2 separate regions of the Homo sapiens genome follow, and region 2 is linked to region 1. The links are contacts of gene promoters, found by promoter capture Hi-C in blood cells and fetal thymus (Javierre and others, 2016). All regions are on one chromosome and are shown on one strand. Each heading gives the region's core, a stretch centred on a gene start or on the middle of the fragment in contact. The rest is flanking DNA. Distances are from core to core; before and after follow the strand shown. Region 1 holds the start of EN2 (engrailed homeobox 2). Region 2 overlaps PAXIP1 (PAX interacting protein 1).

Region 1 (6,650 bases), core at 2,820-5,319:
CAATGTCCGCCCGTTGGCCCCGCCCGCCCCACCCCTGCTCCCCGCGCCCCTTCGTTTCGGCCTTTGTCTACAGGCCGGGTCGGAACGTCAGCCCCAGGAGCCGACGGTGGCTCTCTGCTCGCCCCGGGGAAGGTGTTGCTCTCCTATCGGCCCCAATTCCCCGCCCGGCGCCTGGGGCTTGGCTGCGGGGCTCGGCTCCCAGCCGAGGGCGCAGGGCTGGCCAGGCCTGCTTTGGCTGAGGTGGAGATCTCGCTCTCAGGGATTGTTGGGCGTCTCTGCCCCGCGAGTAACGAGACCGCCGCGAGCGAACGGCTTTCATTGAGTCCATTTTTCCAAGTGTCACCACGTCAAGCTAGAGAAGCGAGGCGAGTGGAGGGGACGCAGAGGGGCCGGAAAAGTCACCCTTCTCTGGCCTCGTTTTCAGATAAAAACGGGAGCCTGGCTCGGCATCCGGGCGCCCGGTGTCTCCGGGGCGCTTCACTGAGGTTTTGTTTGCAAAACTAGCGTCCGTGTCCTGAAGCGCACGGCGTCTGGAAGCTGCTTTCCTGCTCGCCCTCTCCGAGGCCCCTCTTTGTGCAGCGAGCCTGAGAAATATGGAGGACCGTCCTCCGCAAGCGGGTGGTCGCGGGCGCTCTCCGATTCCTGGGTGAAGCTAGAGGGAAAACGGGGTTCCCGGGTCAGTGCCCCACTTTCCATCCCGGGAGAAACTAATGTCCGGAGAGGGCTCGTCTGATCCGCACAGAAAGGCCGACCTTGAGGGCGGCGGTCGTTCGGGGGAGAAAGCGGAGGCTCTGGGCTCGCGGGAGCGCGGCAGCCGGGGCTGGCATCGCAGAGGAGAGACACGCCACTGCCCCGCATCCCCAGAAAGCGCGAGGCGCCGTCCCAGCTGGGGCAGGCGGCCGAGGCCGGTCCTCATGCGCGCTTCTCGAAGCTTCCTGAAACACCTTGCGGAGTTCCGTGTGTATAGAACTCAGCACCGCCCAGCCCCTGGGCAGCTCAACTTTCTGCAGCCCCATCCCAGCTTCCCCGGCCCTTTGAACGGTGACCCCTCTTACCGCTTTCCCAGAGTTGTTTCGTGTTTGGGTCCACTCTGGGGGGCCCGGTACCCTCTAGTTATCTCTCTCTTCATTTATTTCTCTTTCTCCTATTCCTCCCTCCACCTCTCACCTTCCTCCTTTCCAGGAGAGCGACCCACGAATTCCTCTTCCTCCAGCCAACCCCAGGGCCCAGCCCGCAGACCCTGCGAGGGCAGGTCTCTGCCCACCGGCCCGCCAGGCGCCCTGGAGGTGACGCTCTGCTTCCCAGAGTCTCTGTTGCAGCCACGAATTGGGGTCTGGGTCGCAGGAAAGCACAGGGCTGAAGCCCAGCGTCTTGGGGCCATTTATACTGAGGCAGTCAGAGGCAAAGAGTCCCAAGAATTCAGAAAATACTTCTCAGGAAGCCGCCTAATTGGCTTTCATGGGACAGGTGGAGCCATTAACCTGGGATGGTTTTGCAGGAACCAAAGAGCTCAGGGCCCCTCCTCCCCCCAATATCATGTTCAGGAGACCCAGAGTCGTTGGACCCTCCCTTTCCTGACTGGTGATCATCAGAGTTTCCAGAGTTGCAGAAAATTCTCCCCCCAAAAAACCAAGTAAGCGTCAATAAGACTTCCCACAAACTCTCACCAGCCCTATTTTCCCGGGGGGCAGGTAGACTGTGGGGTTTGATTTTTTGAGACTCGGGGAGGACCCCTGGCAGATGTGTGCCTAGCCAGAACATTTGGTAAGGACTCCTCCAATGAAGAAAAAGTGGAGGAATCCAGCCCCAGCGAGAAGAGGCTTCCCCACCCTGCCCTAGACACACCGGACAGAGGGCACACTCTGACCAGAGCCACGTCCAGTGGCCAGGAGGCCAGCCCAGCACCTCCTCCCCCACCATTCCCGTCCTGGGTGGGGGGGTAATTTTCCTGGGAGCAGCTGTGGGAACTGTCGTTTCTCATCCCAGCCCAGCCAGCACTCTGAAGCCTGCAGGGGAAGGACAGCACGTGGGATGGACACTGGGGAAGGAGCTTCGCAAGGCCAGGGTGCAACCTTCAGGCCCCAGGTGGCCTGGCAGGCCACGCTGCCTCGGAGATGCTTGCCAGACTCCCCAAGTTCACTCAGGGCCTGGCAGCAACCTGCTGGCTGCCTCTGCGGGGGTCTGGGTTGCTGAGCACGGTGCAGCTGCCCAGGGCCAATCAGCCCTAGGGTGTCCGTGCCAGGCTGCGGCCTCCCCGCCTCCCCCGCACTGAGGGTACTCATGGCGTGCAAATGCTCCCGCACCCCCAGAGCTGCCCTATCGGATGTTTCCAGGAATTCACACATTTCCATAAAAATGCATTTTAAATGATGGACAGGCGAGCCTGGGGTAACAACGGGTGTTTGGTGGGTAGACAAGAGCAAATGGGAAGGAGCCCGAGGGAGGAGGGGGAAGAGAAGAGGAAACAGAACTTCCAGTTGGACATTCTGACAACAGCTGGAAGGAAAGTCTAGAAAAGATGAAGAGAGAGGAGGGGAGAAACCAACTGGGGCTCCCACCCTTGCCGTTGGATTCCTAATTCTCGTTTCAAATGGGCCCTGCTCTCCGGCAAAATTAGTTTAAAGGATTTTAAAACAAAGAAAACGAGATGACCGGTCTGGGAGCTCCTCAATCAGAGTAGAGAAGTTAGAGGGGGGCGGGCGACTTGGTTTTGAAGTCTTAGCTGAACAGTCACCCCTCCTCTCCTTGGCAAAAAGGATTCCTTTAGAACCTCCGAGGCTCCTGGATTTCTCCCTTCGCAAATGGAGCCGCATACTGCATTCCCCCGCTCTTTCGGATCGCTAAGCATGTTTCATGAGGGTCGCTGTCCCCGGGTGGAATGCGGCCGTATGCACGCGCCTCCCTGCACACGCACACACACGCACACTTACAATAAGTGTCTGCAGGAGGAGTGTCCTGCGCGCCAGCTCTGCGTTTAAGACAGGAAGCTGCCGGGTTACCGAGTCAAATGGGAGTGACACTATTCCTCTCCATCAGCAAGGAAAGCGGACCACAAAAGTCCCTTTGTATCTCGGCAGCTCATTTAATATTATTTATGCATTTTGTGCAAGGAATTGTGGGATTTCGCCCCACGGTAAACAATATGGAAATCTTAAAAATAGCGATCTTCCTGTGCGTGTCCACCTACGCGCCCCGGGGTGACCTGGCGGGGCTGTCGCCGGGTGACTCACACCCCTGAACCGCGAAGCGACAGGGAAAGCGCGGGCGAGCGCAGGAGACGCGGTCGGGGGTCTCTCCGGGTTCCTGGGCTCCCGCACCCGGAGCGGGGGACGCGGCCGCTTTAAGGGGAGGAGGGGCGGCGGGCTGCTCCTGTCACCCAGCGGCGGCCGGAGCGTCACGTGGGCGCGCGGCGCCGCGGCCATTGGCCCGAGGCACGTGTCCAGGAGACCGGCCTGCGACGTCACTCGAGGGGGCTCTGTTAAAAATAAGAACAAAAATCCAGAGTGAAAGTGTCTCAGGTTGCGCCGAGTGGCCTGGAAATTTCCGAGCCCGCGCGGAGGCCGAGGCGGCGAGGGCGGCGGACGGCCGGGGAGCGCGGGCGGCCCAGCCCGGCCCGGCCGGGCCCTGGCCTCGCGTCTCTCACCCATGCGACTCGGGCCGCGGAGCTCTGCGGGGCTCGGCGGGGGCGCGGCCGCACGCCGGTGGGGCGCCCCGGCCCGCAGCGGGGCGGCGGCCGCGAGGAGGGGGCCTCCATGTGCGTGCGGGCGGTGGCGGGCGCGCTGACCGCGGGCGCCCGGCACCCTCGAGGGCCGGCTAGGGCGTGCGGGCGGGGACGGCCGGGCGGCGGCGGCGGCCGGAGCCGGCCCGGGCGGGCGTGAGCGCCGGGGAACGCGCTGCCTGCATGCGCGCAGCTCTCGCCCCGGGCGGCCCAGGCGGCGGCGCCGGAGCCCGAGGCGGCCGGACGCGGAGAGGAGCGGGGAGCCCGGGAGGCGGCCCGCGTCCCCGCCGGACCACTGCGACTGTCTAGACCCCGGCTGCGCGGCGAAGTCGAGGACTTGGCTCTGTTGAATCTCTCATCGTCTGGGCGAGCGGGGCGGCTCGTGGTGTTTCTAACCCAGTTCGTGGATTCAAAGGTGGCTCCGCGCCGAGCGCGGCCGGCGACTTGTAGGACCTCAGCCCTGGCCGCGGCCGCCGCGCACGCCCTCGGAAGACTCGGCGGGGTGGGGGCGCGGGGGTCTCCGTGTGCGCCGCGGGAGGGCCGAAGGCTGATTTGGAAGGGCGTCCCCGGAGAACCAGTGTGGGATTTACTGTGAACAGCATGGAGGAGAATGACCCCAAGCCTGGCGAAGCAGCGGCGGCGGTGGAGGGACAGCGGCAGCCGGAATCCAGCCCCGGCGGCGGCTCGGGCGGCGGCGGCGGTAGCAGCCCGGGCGAAGCGGACACCGGGCGCCGGCGGGCTCTGATGCTGCCCGCGGTCCTGCAGGCGCCCGGCAACCACCAGCACCCGCACCGCATCACCAACTTCTTCATCGACAACATCCTGCGGCCCGAGTTCGGCCGGCGAAAGGACGCGGGGACCTGCTGTGCGGGCGCGGGAGGAGGAAGGGGCGGCGGAGCCGGCGGCGAAGGCGGCGCGAGCGGTGCGGAGGGAGGCGGCGGCGCGGGCGGCTCGGAGCAGCTCTTGGGCTCGGGCTCCCGAGAGCCCCGGCAGAACCCGCCATGTGCGCCCGGCGCGGGCGGGCCGCTCCCAGCCGCCGGCAGCGACTCTCCGGGTGACGGGGAAGGCGGCTCCAAGACGCTCTCGCTGCACGGTGGCGCCAAGAAAGGCGGCGACCCCGGCGGCCCCCTGGACGGGTCGCTCAAGGCCCGCGGCTTGGGCGGCGGCGACCTGTCGGTGAGCTCGGACTCGGACAGCTCGCAAGCCGGCGCCAACCTGGGCGCGCAGCCCATGCTCTGGCCGGCGTGGGTCTACTGTACGCGCTACTCGGACCGGCCTTCTTCAGGTGAGCCCGCGGGGACCACGCGTCCCGGCTCGCCGCGGGGAGGCCCGCGGAGCTGGGGGGCGGTGCTGGCGCGGGAACTTACCGGGAGGAAAACATCTCGAACCTCCCCCGCGCACACGCACAAAGACTCACGCGACATTGTGTGAAGCTGACGCCGGCCCGGGCAGCGGCCAGGAGTCCAGCGGCAGGACTGATTCGCTAGGGGGTACAGACTTCTTAGGACCGCAGAAGGGACCTTCTTTCTTTCTCTGTCTCTCTCTCTCCTTCCTCTCTCCCTGTCTCCCCTCTCTGTCTTCCACCCCGCCTTGGCGCATCTCTTCCCAGCCCCTAGCCCATGTCTCCCCCACTGTAGTTTTTTTTGGTGGGAACGTGGTGGCTGGAAGATGGGCCCGGAAGTGCACACTCTCATCCCCTTCCCTACGATCTTCCAACTCAGGCCAGGCCGGGGACGCATGCCCCAGCCCACCCCAGACTTGTCCTACCATCCGGTTATCCCGGCTGTGCTCGGGGAAGAAAAGGCGAGGCCCTTTGCCGCTCTGCCTTCTGCCCCTCGGGCCTGCGCTGACCGGTGGGACTCAGGAGGATGCACACAGGGAAGGAGGAAAATAAAGGCGCCCTTTCCCCTTGGCTCCACTTTGTTTGCCAGCGCCAGCCCGCAGTGGTGGGGCTCAGCCCCCTTCCTGCACACAGCGAGGACAAGGGAGGCAGCCGTCCCTCCCGGCACCTGCCATCCCCAAATAGAAAGGACCTTCTCTCAGGGTTTCCTGGGGGCTGCTGATGGGAAAGAGGCAGCATTCGCAGGGGCCCTGCAGAGATGCTGGATATATTTTTTCATAGATCTGCGATTTTAAAAAACTAAGTCCATGTCCTTGTAGAAATCATCAACTGCATTCCATGCGGGTCTGCGGCTGGGAACCGCCATTAGAAGTGGACTGTTTGACCCCGAGCTGGCAGCGGATCCCCGCTGCCCCCAAACCCTCAACTATTTTGCGGGGGTCATTTGCCCAGATCACAGCAGGAGTGAGCCAACCCTTGGGCCGCCATCCCGCAGAACTATGCGTGCATATTTCTGATGAAATTCAGATTTCTCAGCTAGATCTGAAATTTGCTCCATTGTTCTCGTCTTCCTCCTTTGTTAATATTTAATTAACATACAGGCTCACAATGCCGGGCGAGGAGACTCGGCCGGGCTTTGTGCGGCGCGGGAGTTCGCTGAGCCAGCCCCCAACGGCCCGGGAGCTGGGCAGCACCGCCCGGCCCGGCCTGGCCCGGCCCAGCTCAGCCCAGCCCAAGTCGCCTATCTTCATGGGCTTTAAAATATCCCTGCAAGATAATGTTTCTGTTCTTTGGTTTCTCCGAAAGAAAGGGGAGAGAGAGTTTTCTTGGGGAGGTTTGATTCTGTTTCTGAGACTCCTAAGTATTTGTCTTTTGAAAGAAAATCAAGAAAAAAACCTAAAAATTATTATTTTAGGGAAATTTATTGCCATAAAATGGTGTCCTTTTGCGGGCTGCTTCATGAGTGCATTAACAAGAGCCCCAGGACCAGAAGAGTTTGGGGGTAGAGTTCTGGGGAAGGGAGTGGTTGGAAACCCAGACAGAGATGGGCTCTGGGAGCAGGAGGCTGGGGCCTCTCCTGGAGCCTTGTGC
Region 2 (6,650 bases), core at 3,140-5,639, 520 kb before region 1:
ATTTCCTATTTCTGTGTCTGGTGTGTGCCCATTTTTGTTCATGATGCCTTGCTTCCTTGCTATTTTCTCTGTGGGATAAGTATGTGTTTAGTCCAAGATGGGGAGGGGGGTATCTCCAAGGAGGATTTGTAATTCCTTATGCAATTGCTTTAGGGTGCTACTAGCCTAAATTCTGAGGTTGAAGGGTTTTTGGACCATCCACGTATTGTGAATTAGTGCAGCAGCCCTAAGGTTCAAGACTGGCAGTGACTCCCAGGGTTGTTGGGGGCAGATTTATGTTTATTTCTATTTCATATTTATACCTAGGGCATAGCCCTTTGGGGTTCCAGTCTTAGGGAAGGAGGATCTTCTATTTCACTCCTCACTTTGGGCAGGTCCTGAACACTTACCTTCTCCACAGTGAGGCTGTGAAACTCAAGTTCAGCTGCTTGGACAAATGCTCTCAAGGCAATGGCCTCAGTGCTTAGCTAGTCCCTGAGTTTTCATCTTTACTTAGTTCTTGGCCTGAGTACTCCTGTTTTGCCAGCTCATGGGTTTATTTTCTATATCTAAGGTCACCATTTTTCATTATCAGAAGGATAACTAGTCAAGGTAGCTGCCCACCATATTGCCAGAGATACAAATGTCTCCCTGAACACTTGAGGTCTCATACCATCAAAATTCTCATCTCACCTTGTCAACCATTCCTTTGATATCTTCCACTGACCACTGAGAATTGGTCTTCAAGCCCCAGTCCTTGGCAGTACAAAGGGTAATTAGGGAGTGTTGACCTACAATTACCTAATGCCACTATGATAACTCCCCAGTAACGGAACTCAGCTTACATGCTTACCCAAATTGCAGCCTTAATTTCACTATAAAATTTTCTCTGGCTGCCTTACCAAGTTCATTGTTTATATCATTATCACTAATTTCTTTTCTCCAAATGTAAAATTTTTAGTTTAAATCATGAACAAAGCGATGTTGTTTTCCTTTGAAACACCCCCTTTTTCTCTAAGTCTATCCTAATTCCAGGTCTTACTACTTCTTATAGAGGTGAATCCAACATGTTTTGTTCACTTACCTGCCTTCACTGTGTCTACTTTCAAATTAATCTTTCTGGAATAGTTTTTATTATATCCCCTCCCCCCACAAAAAATTAAAACTATTCCTTATTTTCCCTCTGATAATTTTAGTTCAACACATTTTGAGCAAATGCCTATAAAATGCCAAGCAATCTACAAAAATTTGGGATACTGTCAGTTTTCTATTGCTGCTGTAACAAATTGCCACAAATTTAGTGGCTTAAATGAGAACAACTAAAAACTATTGTTTTACAGTTCTATAGGTCAGAAGTCTGGTGGAGTCTCATTGGAGTAAAATCACTCTTAGTTCCTTGCATCTGTAGGACTAAGGTCCCATTTTCCAAACCACTTTCCTGTCTTCCTCTTCCACTGTGAGGGGTTCACGTGATTCACTCGGGCCTTCCTGGATAATTCTGCCTTCCTCTTCCACTGTGAGGGGTTCACATGGCTCGCTTGGGCCTTCCTGGATAATGCAGGCTCATCGCCCCATCTCAAGGTCCTCAACCTTAATCACACCTGCAAAGTATCTTTTGCCACTAAGCTAACATAGAAGCCACAGGTTCTGGGGATTAGGTCTAGGACAGGGATTCCCCAGCCCCCAGGTCACGTACCAGTACGAGTCCACGGCCTATTAGGAACTGGGCTGCACAGCAGCTGAGAGGTGGGCGAGTGAGCATTACCGCCTGAGCTCTGCCTCGTATCAGATGACTGGCAGCATTAGATTCTCATGGGAGCACGAACTCTATTGTGAACTGCACATGCCAAGCATCTGGGTTGCGTACTTCTTATGAGAATCTAATGCCTGAAGATCTGAGGTTGAACAGTTTCATCCTGAAACATACCCTAAACCCCTACCCAATCTATGGGAAAATTATCTTCCATGAAACCACTCCCTGGTGCCAAAAAGGTAAGGGGCTGCTGGTCTAGGGTATCTTTGGGGGGCTATAATTCCACCTACCACAGATAACATAGGTGAAGAAGGCCTCAATCTGTCTCTGAGGCTTCATTAACGCAGAGAGAAACAGAGTGCGAACAAGTAACCACTCACCTCTAAGACATCTATTCCATTGTATCAGAGAGGGCTGAGGACACAAAGAGGAGGAAACTAGAAAGAATGTTTATAAAGATCAGGAAGGCCTTACAGTCTAAATGAGGGGAAAGCTTGCCAGATAGGAATGGGAGTTCTTCTAATAGGAAGAGATAGCATATAAAGTGAGAGAGGCCTGTGAAGTGTTTGGCAAGCTTGGGTAATCACAACTGATTCCATGTGACTAATGGGAGTAAGGGGGTGGGATGGTGACATTACAAGAGATTAAGATGCTGGCCGTGGTGGCACGCACCTGTAGTCCCAGCTGTTTGGAAGGCTGAGGCACGAGAATCGCTTGGGCCCGGGAGGTGGAAGTTGCAGTGAGCCAAGATCATGCCACTGCACTCCAGCTAGCACTAGAGTGAGACTCGATCTCAAAAAAAAAAAAAAAAAGAAAAAGATGTGAAACATCTCATCTTGGACTCTTTCTTTTTAGCATTAATATGAGAAACAGAATCTTATTTCAGGAAAATTACTCCTGGAACAGTACAGAGGTCAACCTGAAAGGAAAGCGACTGGAGAAAAGGAGACAAATGTAAAACCTTGCTAACATTTACAAGAGGAAAAGAAATGAACACAGTGAGCGTGGGGAGAGGTAGATATGAACAGCTCTGCAGTTGGAGGAACAAACCTTGGAAATAAGGAGAGGTGACCTGTGTTTAGCTGCACCCCTAGAGGGTGGAATCGGCTGAGGAGCAAGCCCAGCAACACTGAAGTTCAGAGATGGAGCGGCTGGGCGGTGGGCGAGAGAAACTCTTCGGGGACACATGTGGTTCATTTCAGGAGGTAGCTAAACTTTCTACAAAGTTAGTACGTAATTACACACTTATTTTTTAATTCAACAAAGTAATTTGGGAGAGCTTCATGGGGAGCAGCACTGAGGTTTAAAGAGCTGAGGATACAATTATCTTCATTTAACTTTCTATGCTAAAATATTTCTTAAAAATAAAGTTGTGCAGCTATTACTATTCAAATATTTCCTTAAATTACCAAATATTTGCTAGATTGACATATGTTGTTTAACTTTTCCTAATGAGACTAAACTCCTAGAGCTAGGATACGCAGTATTTCTTCCAAGTTTCCTCTCAATACCTAGCAGATAGATTAAAAACACACTTTTTGTGAGCTATCAGGTAGATACTTTTAATTATCCTACACAAAGAAACAATCTTGGGATGATTTGGATGGATTATCTATGTCTTCATCATTGGCATTCACATTGCTTGCCATTCTTACTTGCCAGTGTTACAGAATTCAGGGTATACTGAGGTGGCAGCTCGGTGATGGACAGCTGTTCATCTTCTCAATGATCAGCCACCCCTGGTCACTGCACGCTGGAAAAGTACCTAGTGCAAGGGAAGGACCTCCATTTTTTAATTGCACTTTATGTTAACTTCAAAACTGGCATTAATTCAGTTATTGGAAGACACTTAACTATCTTTTGAATAATTTGAGTATATAAACATACATAATATCCTTTTTCAACTCTAAGTGGTGTGAAATCTAAACAGATCAAGTACTTCCAATGAAAATTTCAGAATTGAGATGTTGTCTAAGTGTAAAATATACACTGGATTTTAAAGACTTGGCATCCCTCAAACAGTAAAAATATCTCAGTAATTTCTAAAAATATTGATTACTTCTGGCAGAAGCAATATTTGGATGTATTGTCTACATATTAAAACTAATTTTAAAACATTTATTGTAGCTACTAAAAATGTTTAAATTACACATTGTTCCCATTATATTTCTATTAGATGACACCGAGCCAGATGAAAATAGGATTAAATGAGATTTTCATGTAAGAAATAATTTGTCCGATCTAATCATTTTTTTCTAAGAAGTATTTACTTGAAATCTTTTTATTTTTATATGTTCATCTAAGTCCCTCTTAGTCACCAAATCAATGCTTAACAGCTGTGCAAGCCAGTTGGCTTTAGACAGCTCCTGGAGTTTTTAAGGATCATTTCTTGGCAGCTTTAGAAAAAAAAGCACTAATTGAAAGGTTAATCAAATCAGTCATATTTGTATGTTGGTTATATAAACACCCTGTCTCCACCAAAGATTAAACAGACGCATTATACTCTACCCAGAAGGCCCATTTATTCTGTAATGATTGTCACTTGCCTTCAAGCTTCTAAGTAGTAGGGAAGTACTTTGAATACTTTGCAAATGAAAACTCTATTCTGATTTATGAAATGCTTCCACACTGCCAGGATTCTACAGAATCTAAAATATTTTATAGCAACACCAATTCTACCTGTGGTACACAAGGGGAAAAGGTCAGTTCTACATCTACTCAAAGATAAGTCAGTATCTAAGTTTATTTAAGCACAAAAATATAAGCTTAAAAATAGACATATTTTGAGGCACAATGTTGGTTAAAAAACAGCTCTGAATGTCTGCGACAGCACTGGTCAGCACGATCTAAAGATATTAGCAGTTACTGCCCTGCTCATCTTTAATAAACAGGCGGTCTCCTACCATTTTATCACACCTATGATCCAACAAGACGTGTACTGCAACAGGGTCTGGAAAGAAGCAGGATGGATGCAAGTTCCGTAGCGTCACTGGTTCTCACTGGTTGCGCCTGTGCTTAGTGATTGCAAAATAATCTGAATCCACCCCTGCCTGGGATGGAGTTTATTACGGTGACAAAAAAAATGGCTGGCTTCTAGAAATTATTTCTTGAGGTAAAAATTGACTGGAAAATATTTTGTCTTGAAATTACTTAAAATGTGATCCGGTTTGATGCAAATTATAAGTTATGCAAAAAATGTGGAATAATAAAGGATTACTCAATTCTAAGTTCAAAAGTACATTTATTTAAAATGTGGGCAAGATATCAATATAAAAGAAAACAGAGTATAAGAAATAAAAATAATCAAAGTACAAAACATTTCAAATCTTTAACATCCATAATTTAGAGATAGCAAGGTCTTTATTTACACCATTTTATTTCTAGTTGAAGTCCCGTAACAGTTTTGTGAAAACATTTAAAAACCTGGCAAATGAATCATAAAACCTAATGTGGGCTCTTAAAGTCATATAATACAAAACATAATTTATGTTTCCTCAGAATAAAATTGCACATCTTAAAAAGATGCAGTATATTTATTATATCTGTCTTCCTGCTTCACAGTCTGATCCCCCAGGAAAGCAGCTGGAAAACAAGAGCATGTGAAGGAAGCGCAGCAGCTCCTCGCCAGCCAGACAGCCAGCCCCGCACCGCAGGAGTCGACATGCACGGCAGCCTAGACGCCATCAGTTAAACTTATATGTAGGCTTGTTGAGGAAAACGACTTTCAAACACAAGGCAAAAGAAAAACATGAAACCAAGGGTTCCAACATTCATCATCCAGTTTCAGAGACACCCTTGAAGGAATGCTACAGCCTCTTTCTTACCCATTCAAACCAGTCGCTCTGCTGCATACCCACATCACAGGAGGCCCTCAGCCCCGACACACAGGCTCACTCAGCCCGGGGACATCAGCACCTGTGCCAGCTCCGCAAGGTATCCACCATGCGGCCAGAACTGAGGCCCAGCAATAGCTGAAATGTCCTTTAAATTAACATGTACAACACACAACCCCCAAGAGCTGACATCCCCAAAGCCCCACCACAAATAGCTGACTCCTACTTATACCTGCAGGAGCAGGTAGTGACCTCTGCAATTCTAAACCGTCCACTTTGGGCAAAATTCATCAAGCTATGGATATGAAAAAAGGCCCCCAAGGTAATACTCATAAGTCTCCTGTATGACTTTTAAAGCAATTTCTTCTGAAAGTAAATGTAGTGTAGAACAGGCTTTCACAAATACAAACATGAATGTTAGGAAAAAGTCTGGAAAAAATGCAAGAGTACATGTTGTATAAAAACCAAATGCTTATAGCATATCTGTAAAAATTTAACAGGCCTCTTATCATTCCTATCAGTAGCTCCTACAATAATTTTCTAATAGATGGCGGTATGGAATACAGCAAGCTCTGGTATGAATGGTAAGAGCGTTTCTGCACCAAGCCTCATTCCAACTAGACAGGCTATTTATTTATGGCTAAACATGACATTGGATTCTGGGACTGAGGCAAATTTTACTTCTTTTTTTTTTTTTTTTTTTTTAAAGACAGAGTTTCGCTCTTGTTGCCCAGGCTGTAGTGCAATGGCGCGATATTGGCTCACTGCAACCCCTGCCTCCCAGGTTCAAGTGATTCTCCTGCCTCACCAAGTAGCTGTGATTACAGGTACCCGCCACCATGGCCAGCTAATTTTTTCTATTTTTAGTAGAGCCAGGGTTTCACCATGTTGGCCAGGCTGGTCTCGAACTCCTGATCTCAGGTGATCCACCTGTCTTGGCCTCCCGTGCTGGGATTATAGGCATGAGCCACCACGTCCGGCCAAATTTTACTTCTTAAAAGTGCTTTTCTCTCAGTGATATCAAGGTCTTCTGTCTACTATTATAACCATAAGCTCTTTAGCGTTAAGAGGAAAATGTTTGATAA

The links. Contacts are between HindIII fragments. The CHiCAGO score rates a contact against its expected background, and 5 or more counts as called.
Region 2: a fragment that was not itself captured here is called in contact with the fragment with the promoter of EN2 in region 1 in 1 of 17 cell types (total B cells); the score reaches 6.5 in total B cells.

What each region holds. Positions count from the first base shown.
Region 1 is chr7:155,454,060-155,460,709 of GRCh38, forward strand. EN2 (engrailed homeobox 2) reads left to right here and starts at 4,070. Exons shown (of 2, transcript NM_001427.4): 1 at 4,070-5,003. The coding sequence starts at 4,319. EN2-DT (EN2 divergent transcript) reads right to left here and starts at 3,059. Exons shown (of 3, transcript NR_186580.1): 1 at 2,931-3,059. RefSeq lists enhancers at 1-282, 283-808, 2,732-3,723. The HindIII fragment of the contact is 14,368 bases long and covers 930-6,650 here.
Region 2 is chr7:154,938,734-154,945,383 of GRCh38, forward strand. PAXIP1 (PAX interacting protein 1) reads right to left here. Exons shown (of 21, transcript NM_007349.4): 21 at 4,957-5,431. The coding sequence ends at 5,416. PAXIP1-AS2 (PAXIP1 antisense RNA 2) reads left to right here. Exons shown (of 8, transcript NR_024476.1): 3 at 5,294-5,887. Among named protein-coding and RNA genes, the nearest start is that of PAXIP1-AS2, 14 kb to the left of the region's middle. The HindIII fragment of the contact is 212 bases long and covers 4,284-4,495 here.